Regions from separate parts of the Homo sapiens genome. Here regions 1 and 3 are each linked to region 2. Evidence: promoter capture Hi-C in 16 types of primary human blood cells and fetal thymus (Javierre and others, 2016). All regions are on one chromosome and are shown on one strand. Each heading gives the region's core, a stretch centred on a gene start or on the middle of the fragment in contact. The rest is flanking DNA. Distances are from core to core; before and after follow the strand shown. Region 1 overlaps ASB7 (ankyrin repeat and SOCS box containing 7). Region 2 holds the start of SNRPA1 (small nuclear ribonucleoprotein polypeptide A'). Region 3 holds the start of SPATA41 (spermatogenesis associated 41).

Region 1 (3,964 bases), core at 613-3,112, 680 kb before region 2:
TAGTAAACATGAGAGGCTTTGTGTGCCGTACTGGCTTTGTAACTACCCAGCTCTGCAGTCGGAGCCTGGAAGCAGCCACAGATAGTATGTAAACTAATGGGTGTGGCTGTGTTCCAGTAAAACTTTATCAAAACCAATGGTGGGGGGAAAAAAAGAAAAAACCAGTGAGGGGCTTAGAGGCTGTAGCAGGGGCATCCAGTCTTTTGGCTTCCCTGGGCCACACTGGAAGAAGAATTGTCTTGGGCCATGAATAAAATGCACTAACACTTAACAACAGCTGATGAGCAAAAAAAAAAAAAAAAAAAGCAAAAAAGTCTTATAATATTTTAAGAAAGTTTATGAATTTGTGTTAGGCTGTATTCAAAGCTGTCCTGGGCTGCATGCCCACCGTGGGCTGCAGGTTGGACAAGCTTGGGCTATAGTTTCTGAATCTTTCTCTCTGTATATATGTATGTATCTAGTTACGTGCAGCATAAGGACATTTTGCTCAATCATGGACCCCATTTACAATGGTGGTCCCATAAAATTATAATACCATGTTTTACTGTACCTTTTCTATGGTTAGGTACACAAATGCCATTGTATTACAGTTGCCTCCAGTATTCAGTACAGTAACATGCTGTACAGGCTTGTGGCCTAAGAACAGTAAGCTATATATAACCTGGGTGTGTAGTACGCTGTGCCGTCTAGGTTTGTGTGAGTGCATTTTATGGTGTTCACACAAGAGCGAAATCACCTAACAACCTAGTCCTCAGAATGTATCCCTGTTGTTAAGTAGTATATATGACTGTATATCTATATATATTTTAATAGCTTTATTGAGATGTAATTCACATGCCACAGAATTCACTCATTTAAAGTGTACAGTTAATGGCTTTCGGCATATTCATGGAGTTGGATATTCATCAGCAAAGTCAATTTTAAAACATTGTCATTACCCCCAAAGAAACCTTCTGTTGGTTCTATTAATACATATTGATTCACTCTTCTTTTCAGCTGCTGAATATAGTATTGATAGGTATGGATATACTATCATTTGTTTATTCTCTTTTATTTTTTGAGAATGGCTGGAATTTTCACAGCAGGAGATTTTGTTTTTTGAAAAGGTAGTGCATACATACATGGTTAAAAAGCCACTTAAAGCTGATCAGTGAGGGCAAGTCTCTAACTTTTAGCCCCAGTCCTTTACTCTTCTTCTAGAGGCCATCTCTTTCACCGGTTTCTTTTGTACCATCCAGAGATAGTCTATGCATGTAGGCAGAAATATTTTTCCGTTTTCTACCTTGTAGCCAGCTCCCTTTTTAAAATGTTCTGTTCCTCCTCTTGATTTTTTCACATAACAGTTAATTTCGTGATAGTTCCTTATCTGCATAGGACTCTGTCTCAGATTCCATCGTATGGATGTAATTTATTTACACTTCTTATTGTTGGACATTGTAAGTTTTCATTTTTCTGCTACTAGAAACATTACAGAGAATGTCCTTGAATGATCGTGTTACATTATGTGAGAGTTTATTTCTTGACTAACTCCTAGAAGTGCATTTGCCAAGTCAAAACATTTTTTATGGATATTGGCAAGTTGTCCTCCGAAGAGATTGTCATCATTTTATGTCCTTACTGACCGGGCAGGATAGTGCCTGTTCACCTGCCTTTGCTAGTGATGTACTTACCAGATGGTTTTTCTCTTTCCTGGTGTGATATACCTGCCTCTCTTTTTCTTTTTTTTTCTTGGAAAAAATGACATATGAGTAACAAACATTGCAAGACTGGGCTTTTTGTCTTACTGATTTGTTGGAATTGTTTATATATTCTCCTTTGTTAGATTTTGCAATGTTTTCTCTCTTTCTGTAGTTTTTTCACATTCTTGTTTTTGTTGTCGGGCAGAAGTCTACATTTCAATGTAGGTGAATTATGGTTTTCTTTAGCCTTATCGTTTGTGCCCTTGGTGTCTTGTTTAGGAAGTATACTGCAGGGTCATTATTTGCCTTTGTTTTCTTCTAAAATGTTTTATGGTATTTAGCTTTTTAATCTGTTCAGAATTGGCTTTGGTGTATATGAGGTAGCCTGGTACAGTTTCACTTTTTTCCCATAAAGACAGCCTAAATCATGCCTTCTTTCTTCATTACTGTGCACTAGGTCAGATATAAGGTTTTCATATATGTGTGGTTCCATTTCTGAGTTTTTATTTAAAACAACAAATATTTTGGATAAGCCCTGTATTTGTTTTTATGTAGCACCTTTTACCTGATACCCTTTCCCTAGTAGAATAAGAGATTCAGAAAGTGTTTCACCCAGTGTATTATGAACCAACTTAGAAAAATTAGTAGAAGCAAACACCTACTGCCCACTTGCTTATGGCCACCTGTGGTGCTTAGGCATGCTCTGTATTTAGTGTAGTCCTGGCTTATGACCTCTAGATCAGTGTAGCCAACTATGTGTTTAATGTCTGCACTCTCATGGCTCATAGACATCGCCAGCACAGCACAAGCTGTGTCCATTCTCACCACGGTGTTCATTCTAGTAAGTGTCACCACAGCCTCTGATTGCCATGCCAGAAATCTAGAAACCATCCTTGGTACCTTTTCCTTACCTCTAATATGACTGATTGCTAAGTCTTATTGATTCTGCCTCCTAAAAAGTTGTCAGAGCTTTTCACTTCCTTTCCCTGGAGATGCCACCCCATTTTTGGGCCAGGAAACATTCCTCACCAGGACTGCTACAGTGGTCTCTTCCATCCCTGCCTCCAGTCTTGCCCCCTCCCAACCAGTCTCCAAATAATGTGACCTGTTAAAATGGAAATAAAAATATTTCCTTTTAAAAATCCATAATTGGTTTCCCATTTCTCTTAGGATGATATTCAAAGTTTATAGTGTGATCCACATGGTGCTGCAGTGCCTGGCCCCTCTTACCTTTCCAGCTGCAGCTTTGAGCCACAGCCCCTCTGCATTCTTTCAGAGTCACTGAGTGCAAAGGTTTTGGCCTGGGACCCTCTTGGGTCACGCTTCTGCTCTCTCCCCACCCCTGCCCCATCACCTTGCTCTGCCTGCTTCTCTCTCAGCTCTCACTGATCGTTTTCTCAGGGAAACCTCTTACCAGCCAGACCGGGTCACCCGGGATCCTTGTATATATCCAGACCAGGTTACCTAGGATCCTTGTATATATCCCTGCTATGTGATACTGTTGTTCCCTGTGTGATGTTATCCCTCTGTTATATGATATTATTGTTCCCTGTACTTTTTTATTATTACAGCTATCATAAGCGTAATGAATTGTTTTATAGTTCTTTATTTTATGTCTATATCTCTGATTCATCTAAAGCTTCTTGAGGGTAGAACCCATATCTGTTTTGCTTCCGTCAAGAAAGAAAGCGAAAACTAACACCAGTTATCTAAAGTAATTGTTCCTCAGTTTTACAGAGACAAGACCAATCTTTTCTTTTATCAAAAAATACTGGAAATGGGCCGCGTTATGGTGGGATTATAAAGTTGCTTGAATGCATCATGCCTCCCCCCACCCCCCACGGGGTCTCCCTGTGTCACCCAGGCTGCAGTGCAGTGGCACAGTCATAGCTCATCACAGCCTCTACCTCCTGGGCTCAAGCAGTCCTCCCACCTCAGCCGTACCTGTTACTTTCAAAACAGTATAGTTTCTTTTCTTTTTTATTTATTTATTTATTTTGAGATGGAGTCTTGCTCTGTCACACAGGCTGGAGTGCAGTGGCGTGATCTCATCTCACTGCAACCTCCGCCTCCCAGGTTCAAGCGATTCTCCTGTCTTAGCCTTCCGAGTAGCTGGGACTACAGGTGTGTGCCACCACACCCAGCTAATTTTTTTTTTTAGTAGAGACGGGGTTTCACCATGTTGGCTAGGCTGGTCCCGAACTCCTGATCCCAAGTGATCTGCCCACCTCAGCCTCCCAAAGTGCTGGAATTACAGGCATGAGCCACCGCGTCCAGTCTCGAAA
Region 2 (4,088 bases), core at 575-3,074:
ATGGCTGATATAGGCAGCTAACATTTATAAGAACATTTACAAGGTGCCTCACACTGTCCTAAGTCGTTTGGGCTAGTTAAGCGGAATCGGCACAACAGGAGTTTACACTTGGAGCTGCTTAGTCTCAGTGCCCAAACGGCGTTCAAACATTGTGGACGACAGTTCTCCACTCTTGCATCTCCACAGGCCAGATTCTTAGAACCCATCAGAACAGCCTCAACATATCACGACAGTTCTCCCTCCCCTCCCCCAGCTCCAATTCAGAATTGAAGATCAATGGTTTAAATACAGTAATAAATCTGTGAACACTCAAATGTTAATTTGTCTAATTTGGGCATAATTATTGTGTTAGGCACTATAAGAAAAGAAATATTCCGAAGAAGCAAGGTCTACTAAAAAAAGAACTTACCCAAAGTTAAAGGACACAATTCAGAGCTGTACTACACGTACTGCATCAAAATACGTATTCTCAACACTGCACATGCTCCATAAAGAGAAATGGCAGAGATCATCAAAAGTGGTGAGTTGGGCCGGGCGCAGTGGCTCAAGCCTGTAATCCCAGCACTTCGGGAGACCAAGGCGGGCGGATCACCTGAGGTCGGGAGTTCGAGACCAGCCTGACCAACATGGAGAAACCATGTCTTTACTAAAAATACAAAAAATTAGCCGGGCGTGGTGGCGCATGCCTGTATTCCCAGCTACTCGGGAGGCTTGAGACACAGGAATCACCTGAACCGGGGAGGCGGCGGTTGCAGTGAGCCGAGATCACGCCACTGCGCTCCAGCTGGGGCGGAAAGAGCGAGACTCCATCTCAACACAACACAACACAAAACAGTGGGATTTCCCAAAGGTCGGCAAGAAATCTAAGCAGATCCCGCAGCGATGCTGCTCCGAGGCCATAGGTCCCCATGGGAACAAATCTCAGGCTACGACAGCATGGTCTTATCCTCAGAGAAGTTGCTCTATCACGTCCCTTTTAAAGCCGTCTCCTGAAATGCCAACTAGCTAGCTGCCCTCCCAGTATCTTACCAAGTCTTGCTAAGGTTGAAATAGTACAGGAATCTGAATAATTGCGAGCGCTTCCACAACTTACACACAGCACCCGGCGGTGCAAGCCTGGGTGACACAGTTCAATTTTTAAAACGTCTTCATATAGGGGAAACGCCAGACAATTAAAGCTACTAAGTAGAAAATACTGGAGGAAACAATCGCGGTTGTTCGGGGACTTAGTTTCCTCCCTCACATTAGGAATAATGAACACATATCCTATCTACGCTCAAAATATCATCTGGCGGCAAGTATTAAGAACCAATCCCGCGCCCTGCACTTGCGTTACAACCATTAATGAGCCGCTCTTCCGGGCCCTCAAACAGCCAGCGGCGAAACAGCCAAGCAAGGCCTAACAGGGCCCCACGAGGACGCACCAGGAAGTAATGAAGTCACCCGTGCCTGTCAAGAGGCACGGCGCTAACAGAAGGCTCCCAGGAGCTTAACCGGATGCTCATCTGGCAACAACGGCAAGAATCAGGCCCGGCGTTCCCTGCGCAGCCCGGTCGGAGCCCAGACAACCGGCCCGCGGGCCAAGCTCCGGCCTTCGGTGCACGCGGCAAAGCGCGGAAAATAAGGCGGCTCGGTGCCGCCTGGGGACTGGCCGCCCACGCCCCCGGACTCACCCCGGAGGTCCAGCTCCCGGTCGCGCACCGCGTTGGTGTACTGCGCCGCCTGCTCGATCAGCTCCGCCGTCAGCTTGACCATCCTGCAGCCTCCCGTTCCCCCGCGCTGTGGAAAGCCCGTGGCCTCCCGCCAGCGAGACGTCCCAGCGTGCCCCGCGCCCCGCCGCCAGGCAGCACCAATCGCAGCCGCCGAGTGCGCGCGCAGCTCGACCGCCAGGCCGAAGCAATCGAAGAGCCACGCCTCCGGGGGCGTTCTTGCCGGAAGTCGTGGCGCGCGCACAGGGGATGTGTCTCGTTCTGGGTTGTTTCCTAGGGTGTGTTTCGGAGTCTGGAGGACCCCTGATTCCAGACGTTGGTGTTTAAAAGTTAAGGCGAATGTGGAAACACCCGAGGGGAACTTTCTCATGCATTAGCGCACCTCGAGGTGGGAGGGGAAGCGGTGACTGTCCTCCCTCCACCAGCCGTCGCGGGAACCCGTGGGGTTCAGTGAAGGGTCCAGCAGTTCAGGTGCCCGCCCCGGGCCTGGGCCTTGGCTCCGGGCTACAGTGTGAGATCCCGGGCTAGGTGGCCCGCCTGGGGCAGGTCGCCGGGACAACCCCACCGCCCCGCAAGTCCAGCCCGGCCTCGGGCACGGTAGGGTTTGCGGTTAAGCTTGTGACCTTTAGACTTCTGAATATTCATATGTATGAAATGTGATATACATAAAAGTGTGCATATCAGGAATTTACAGTGATTAATGACCAGAGTGAACACAGCTGCGTAGCCGACACCGGGATCCAAAACACCGCTATTCTGAAAGCCTCCCTCTTTCCCAAAAGGCAACCGCGAACTCAACACTACAAATTCGGTTTGCTTGCTTTTGCTATAAATAGAATCATGCAGTATGCTTTTTTTTTTGGCCTAGTTTCATGGAGTCTATATTATGTCTGGAGTCCATCCAGGTTGCATACAGAGATGGTTTGTTTGCTTTTGCTGCTGAAGAGAATTCCATTGTATATATTATACCATAAATTACTTATTCTGCTGTTGATAGACATCAAAGTTGTTTTCAGTTAGGGCTATTCTGAGTAATGCTACTATGAATTTTCTGGTACGTGGTTCTGATGCACGTTTGCATGAGTTTGTCCTGGAGTGGGACTGCTGGGACATAGGGTATATCTATCATCAATAAGTAATGCCCAACAGTTATGCTAAGAGGCTGAAATAATATACACACTCCAGCGGTGTGTAAGGGTTTTCATGGCTTCCAGCTTCAGCCTTCTTGGCATTTTAACTCTATAACTTCAGCTATTCTGATGGGTGTGTGGTGGTATTGCACTACTGCTTTGCTTTGCTTTTCTCTAATAACTAATGAAGCTGAGAACCTTCTCATGTGTATGGTGCCCATTCTGATAGCTTCCTTGGTTAAGTGTTCTTTCGAGTCCCTGGCTCATTTTTTTTTTTTCCTTATGGAGTTGTCTGCCTTTTTTCTTATTGATTTGTGGAATTTCTTTATATATTAGGGATATGAACACACTCTGTGGCTTGCCTTTTCACTCTTAATGGTGTTGATGATTAGATTTTTTTTTTTTTTTTTTTTTTTTTTTTTTAGACAGGGTCTCACTCTGTCACCTAGGCCGGAGTGCAGTGGTGCCATCAGGACTCACTGCAGCCTTGACCTCTCAGGCTCAAGAGATCCTCCCACCTCAGCCTCCCAAATAGCCGGGACTATAGGCACAGGTCAACAGGCCTGGCTAACTTTTGTATTTTTTGTAGAGACAAGGTTTTGATATGTGGCCCAGGCTGGTCTCCAACTCCTGAGCTCAAGTGATCCACCTGCCTCAGACTCCCACAGTGCTGGGATTACAGGCGTGAGCCGCCTCGCCTGGCTGAGAAGTTTCCAAGTTTTATGTAGTTCAATTATTTTCTTTAGGTTAGTGGATTGGGTGTGTGTGCATGTGCATGTGCCTTAGGAAATCTTCCCTTACCCCCATCATATTTTCCTATGTGGTCTACTAGACGATTGTTTTGCTTTTCACATTTAGTTCTGCAATCCACCCGGAGATGATTCTCCTTGAACTTTTATTGAAGTATGATATACATATAGAAGAATGCAAACTGAACACACCCAACCAACTAGCATCCTCGTAAGAACAGGACATTGCCACATTCCAGAAGCCCTCCTCCTGTCTTCATCTAGTCACCACCCTTGCCCCAAGGGTAACCATTATCCTGCCATCTTGTATAGATTTGCTTTATCTAGTTTTGTATTTATGCAAATGAAGTACCTTGCATATTTTTTGCTAAACATTATGTTTGTGTGTAGATGTAGTTAATCTATTCTCACTGTAATATGGTATTTCATTGTGGATGTTTTACAATTTACTTATCCATTCTGCTGTTGATGAACATTTGGGTAATTTTCACTCTTTTATA
Region 3 (4,006 bases), core at 1,060-3,559, 940 kb before region 2:
TGTACCCCAAAGCTTTGAAAGCGGGGACTCCAACAGGTATTTGCATACTCATATTCATAGTATGCAAATTTAACTAAGTAGATGTTGTCATGGCATTTGTAAGCTGCCATGGCACTAGCGGGAGTGTCTTTTGCCATGCTAATACATTATAATTAGTGTATAATGAGCAGTGAGGACGAGCAGAGGTTGCTTTTGTCACCATCTGGTTTTGGTAGGTTTTGGCCAGCTTCTTTACCGCATCTTGTTTTATCAGCAGGGTCTTTGTGACCTGTATCTGGCAAAACCTCCCCTGAGATGCAATTCATTGGTTCCTGGGGTAACCAACCTGCCTCCCTGGCAGCCACTGACTCATCCTGTGACGAAGAATGCCTAACCTCCTGGGAATGCAGCCCAGCAGGTCTCAGCCTCATTTTGCGCAGCACCTGTTCAAGATGGAGTCGCTCTGGTTCGAACACCTCTGACAGCTGCCCGACAATGTGAATGTACTTAATGCCACTGAACTTACAAATGATTGAAATGGTAATTTTACGTTATAGTACATTTTACTACAGTAAAAAATGTTTTAAAAAAGAAATCATTACTCTCTTGCTAAGATCTTGTTTCATCTTAACACACACGAGATGCCTTGTCTTCATTTCGTGGACAGGCAAGGCCGAATTCCGTTTCACAGATAGAGGACTGAGATCTGGAGGCAGAGGGCAGGAATTAAAAACAAGACAAACAAGAGCCTTATACAGGCAGTGTCTTTCTGAGTCTGATCCCTGTTGTCTTGAGAGCTGCGGTGAGGGAAAGTCGTCTTCAGAGCCCTCAGGGTCAAAGCAGTTTGTTACCCTTGAGATAGACAAAGCTCCTAACCTCTCCAGCTTTTTGCCGACAGCTCGATTCTGATGGGCACTGACCTTTTCCGACCCTGTTTTCAGGAGCCGACTCCTGGCAGGTTGGTTGTAGGGGCCCTCTTGAGTGCTTCACACACAGCAGTCCTGTTGGGGTGAAGGTCACCGTCACTGTGATAATTGTTGTCGTCGTTGAAACCACCCAGCCCGAAAGCAGCATGGGCTGTGCCCAGAGCCGCCGTGCCAGAAGCCCACGCTTAGAAATAGAGGGCCGAAGACCAAAGAGGACTGCGGGTTCTTGGGCCAAACGTGACCCTCTCAAATCCCCCAACTCGGGGATTTCGTTAGCTGGGGACTGGTGTGCCCGGGTTCCAAGACCCCTGCGTAGACTCTGTCTATAGGTGGAAGAAGGCCTTTGCCCCGAGGCATCCAGAGGTAACGGTGAGAGGAACAAGGGCACGTGGGGGATCCCACCACAGCCTCCCCTGAGACCCTCTTCACGCTGGTTGCAGGAGTAGCCAACCCCGCTCCCTGGCAGCCCGTGAGATGCCACATCCCCTCCAGCAGGGGGCGGCCGGCATCGGTCCCGTCTTCCTAAACCGGCGTTGGTGGGAAATGCCGGCACCAGCTCCCTCCCCGCTCCAGAGCCCTGTTTTCCCCATTTGTATTTCACTACTTTCCTGTTGAGCTTGGATTCCAGCCTCAAATTCCGCGATTTGGCCGGCATCCTAATCCCCGAGTGACTCTTGCCAACCACTCTCTGTGGGGCCTGTGTGCTTCCTCCTGGGTTCTGGGGCGCTGGCGGCGTCCGCTTCACCGGGAACGGGAGCCCCAGCCTCCCGAGGCCTTCCTGCCTGGCTCTGGGAATGGCCACTGTCCAGAAAGCCCCGCGGCCGTCCATGCTCGCTCGCTCAGTCAGGCCCTTGTGGGGATATTGCAGAACGAGTCCGAGTTACTATCCCTTTAAATACAGGCGTTTCGGCCTAGCTGCCGCCGGTCCAATCCGCAGCGCTTCCGTGCCCCACTTTCCCGCGTCAGCCTGGCTCCGGCCTCCACCAGGGGGTGCTAGTGAGATCCCAGCCAGCCTCAGAGCTGAGCGTCCAGGGCCTTCAAATGTCCCCATCCTTGAAAAGGCAACTCCAGTGGCATCTTCTGCGGGGAGACCAGAAGCAGCATCTGACGAGGAGACAGCACTGGCGGTCCCGACACAACTGAATCGGCAGGATGAGGGCCCTTAGTGTTAGGCACCGGCGGAGCTGCATCCCACCCCGTCTCGTCCCCTGAGAACAGCTGTGAGAAGCCGCCTATTTTTCATCGTTCTGCAACACACCTTTCCCTTCCTTGGGATATTTCTCCTCTTTCAGCATTGCCGCATCAGGGTTCCAAAGCCCCGTTTCTCTCCTAGTTCTTTCTTTGCTCAAGAAAAGCAGCTTGTCTGATAAACTAAGCTATGTATGATTCGCTGCCAGTACAGACTGAAAAACAAAATAAACTCCCAATTCACAGTCCTCCGTTGCGTAACAGTGAGCAGACGTTCTGAGAAATGCATCGTCAGGCAATTGCATCATTGTGCAAACAATATAGAGTGTACTTACCCAAACCTAAACAGCACAGCCTACTACACACCCAGGCTGTAGGCTGTGCTTCTAGACTACAAACCTGTACAGTGTGGTACTGAACACTGTAGGCAACTGTAACACAATGGTAAGTATTTGTGTATCTAAACATAGAAAAGATACAGTAAAAATATGGTATGAAAGATTGAAACTGGTGCACCTGCCTAGGGCACCTACCGTAAGCTTGGAGCTTACGGGACTGAAAGTTGCTCTGGGTGAGTCAGTAAGTGAGTGGTGAGTAAATACGAAGGCCTAGGACATTACTGTACACTACTGTAGACTTTAAAACCCTGTACACTAGGCCCACACTCAATTTATTTTTAAAAATTTTCTTTCCTTCAATAATATATTCACTTTAGCTTACTGTAACTTTTCTACCTTAAGAATTTTTAAATTTTTTGACTCTTTTAATAACAGCTTGAATACACAAACACATTGTACAGCTATACAAAAATATTTTCATTCTTCATATCCTTATTCTATAAGCTTTTTTCCTACTTTTGAAGTTGTTTATTTTTTACATTTTAAACTTTTTGTCAAATATTAAGACACAAACACACATTAGCCTAGGCCTATACAGGGTCAGGATCATCAATACCACTGTCTTCTGCTTTCACATCTTGTCCCACTGGAAGGTCTTCAATGGTAATAACACACATTCTTAGTAAATGCAAATAGTCATGGCTCAGACTGATATAGTAATGATAGACTATTCAATATGTGGTATTGGACAGCTGTTTATATATTTGTACGAACCTAAGTTAGATTCTGTGGTGGTTCAAAAATATATCCTCTAATTATGACCTGCTTCCCTTCAACAGGTGTACCTAATTCCTCTGCCTAGAAAGTGTGCTGGAATTACTGCCTGGCTTCTGATGAATAGGGCGTATTGAGAGTGATGCTTTGTGAGTTCTGAGGCTAGGTCATAGAAAGGATTGAACTTATTCCTGAATGTTGCTCTTGGATCACTTGCTTTTTTGGGAACCACCAGCCATGTCATGAGGACACTCAAGCAACCCTGCAGAGAAGCACATGTGTGGAGAGGCACTTCTTGGAAAGGAGGCCAACTTGCCAGAACCAACTAATTTGTCATGTGAGTGAGTCATTTTGGAAGCAGATCCTCTACCCTCAGTCAGGCCTTCCGATGATTTCAGCCCCCAGCCTTTGAGTCTGCCCCAAACACCATGAGTAGAGACAAGCCCTTCCCACTGTGTCCACCCTGGCTGAATTCCAGACCGTTAAAAAAACAAGAGAAAATAAATTATTATTAGTGTTTTGAGTCACTAAGTTTTGGACTAATTTGTTATGCAGCAATAGCTAACAACTACAGAGTCATAACACAAACTAAAATTAATTCTAAGGCATGTTAAAGATTTATATGAAAGCATTCATCTAATGGAGGTGTGCAAGAAGTGGCTATAAAAAATTTAGGGCACCCAAAAGCAACCTGTAGGCTGAGCAGGGTAAGTACATCTGCAAGAGCAGCCAGATGGCTAGTTGGTCCCTGTGTGCAGCCTCTCTACCCACCCATGGTATAGGTCCAGGAATGGAACTGTT

The links. Contacts are between HindIII fragments. The CHiCAGO score rates a contact against its expected background, and 5 or more counts as called.
Region 1: a fragment that was not itself captured here is called in contact with the fragment with the promoter of SNRPA1 in region 2 in 1 of 17 cell types (erythroblasts); the score reaches 6.2 in erythroblasts.
Region 3: a contact is called between the fragment with the promoter of SPATA41 here and the fragment with the promoter of SNRPA1 in region 2, in 2 of 17 cell types (activated CD4 T cells and non-activated CD4 T cells). The highest score is 6.6, in activated CD4 T cells.

Annotation. Positions count from the first base shown.
Region 1 is chr15:100,614,457-100,618,420 of GRCh38, forward strand. The region is part of intron 4 of ASB7 (ankyrin repeat and SOCS box containing 7); the gene reads left to right. Among named protein-coding and RNA genes, the nearest start is that of ASB7, 14 kb to the left of the region's middle. The HindIII fragment of the contact is 2,908 bases long and covers 409-3,316 here.
Region 2 is chr15:101,293,424-101,297,511 of GRCh38, forward strand. SNRPA1 (small nuclear ribonucleoprotein polypeptide A') reads right to left here and starts at 1,825. Exons shown (of 9, transcript NM_003090.4): 1 at 1,674-1,825. The coding sequence starts at 1,755. SNRPA1-DT (SNRPA1 divergent transcript) reads left to right here and starts at 1,925. Exons shown (of 2, transcript NR_186319.1): 1 at 1,925-2,306. RefSeq lists enhancers at 779-1,410, 1,974-2,023, 2,084-2,173 and a silencer at 1,554-1,743. The HindIII fragment of the contact is 2,362 bases long and covers 1-2,322 here.
Region 3 is chr15:100,348,409-100,352,414 of GRCh38, forward strand. It overlaps SPATA41 (spermatogenesis associated 41), which reads right to left and starts at 2,310. Exons shown (of 2, transcript NR_028139.1): 1 at 326-2,310. It overlaps LOC105371021 (a long non-coding RNA gene), which reads left to right and starts at 1,198. Exons shown (of 3, transcript XR_007064777.1): 1 at 1,198-1,274; 2 at 1,967-2,537; 3 at 3,271-3,736. RefSeq lists an enhancer at 1,478-1,737. The HindIII fragment of the contact is 2,620 bases long and covers 11-2,630 here.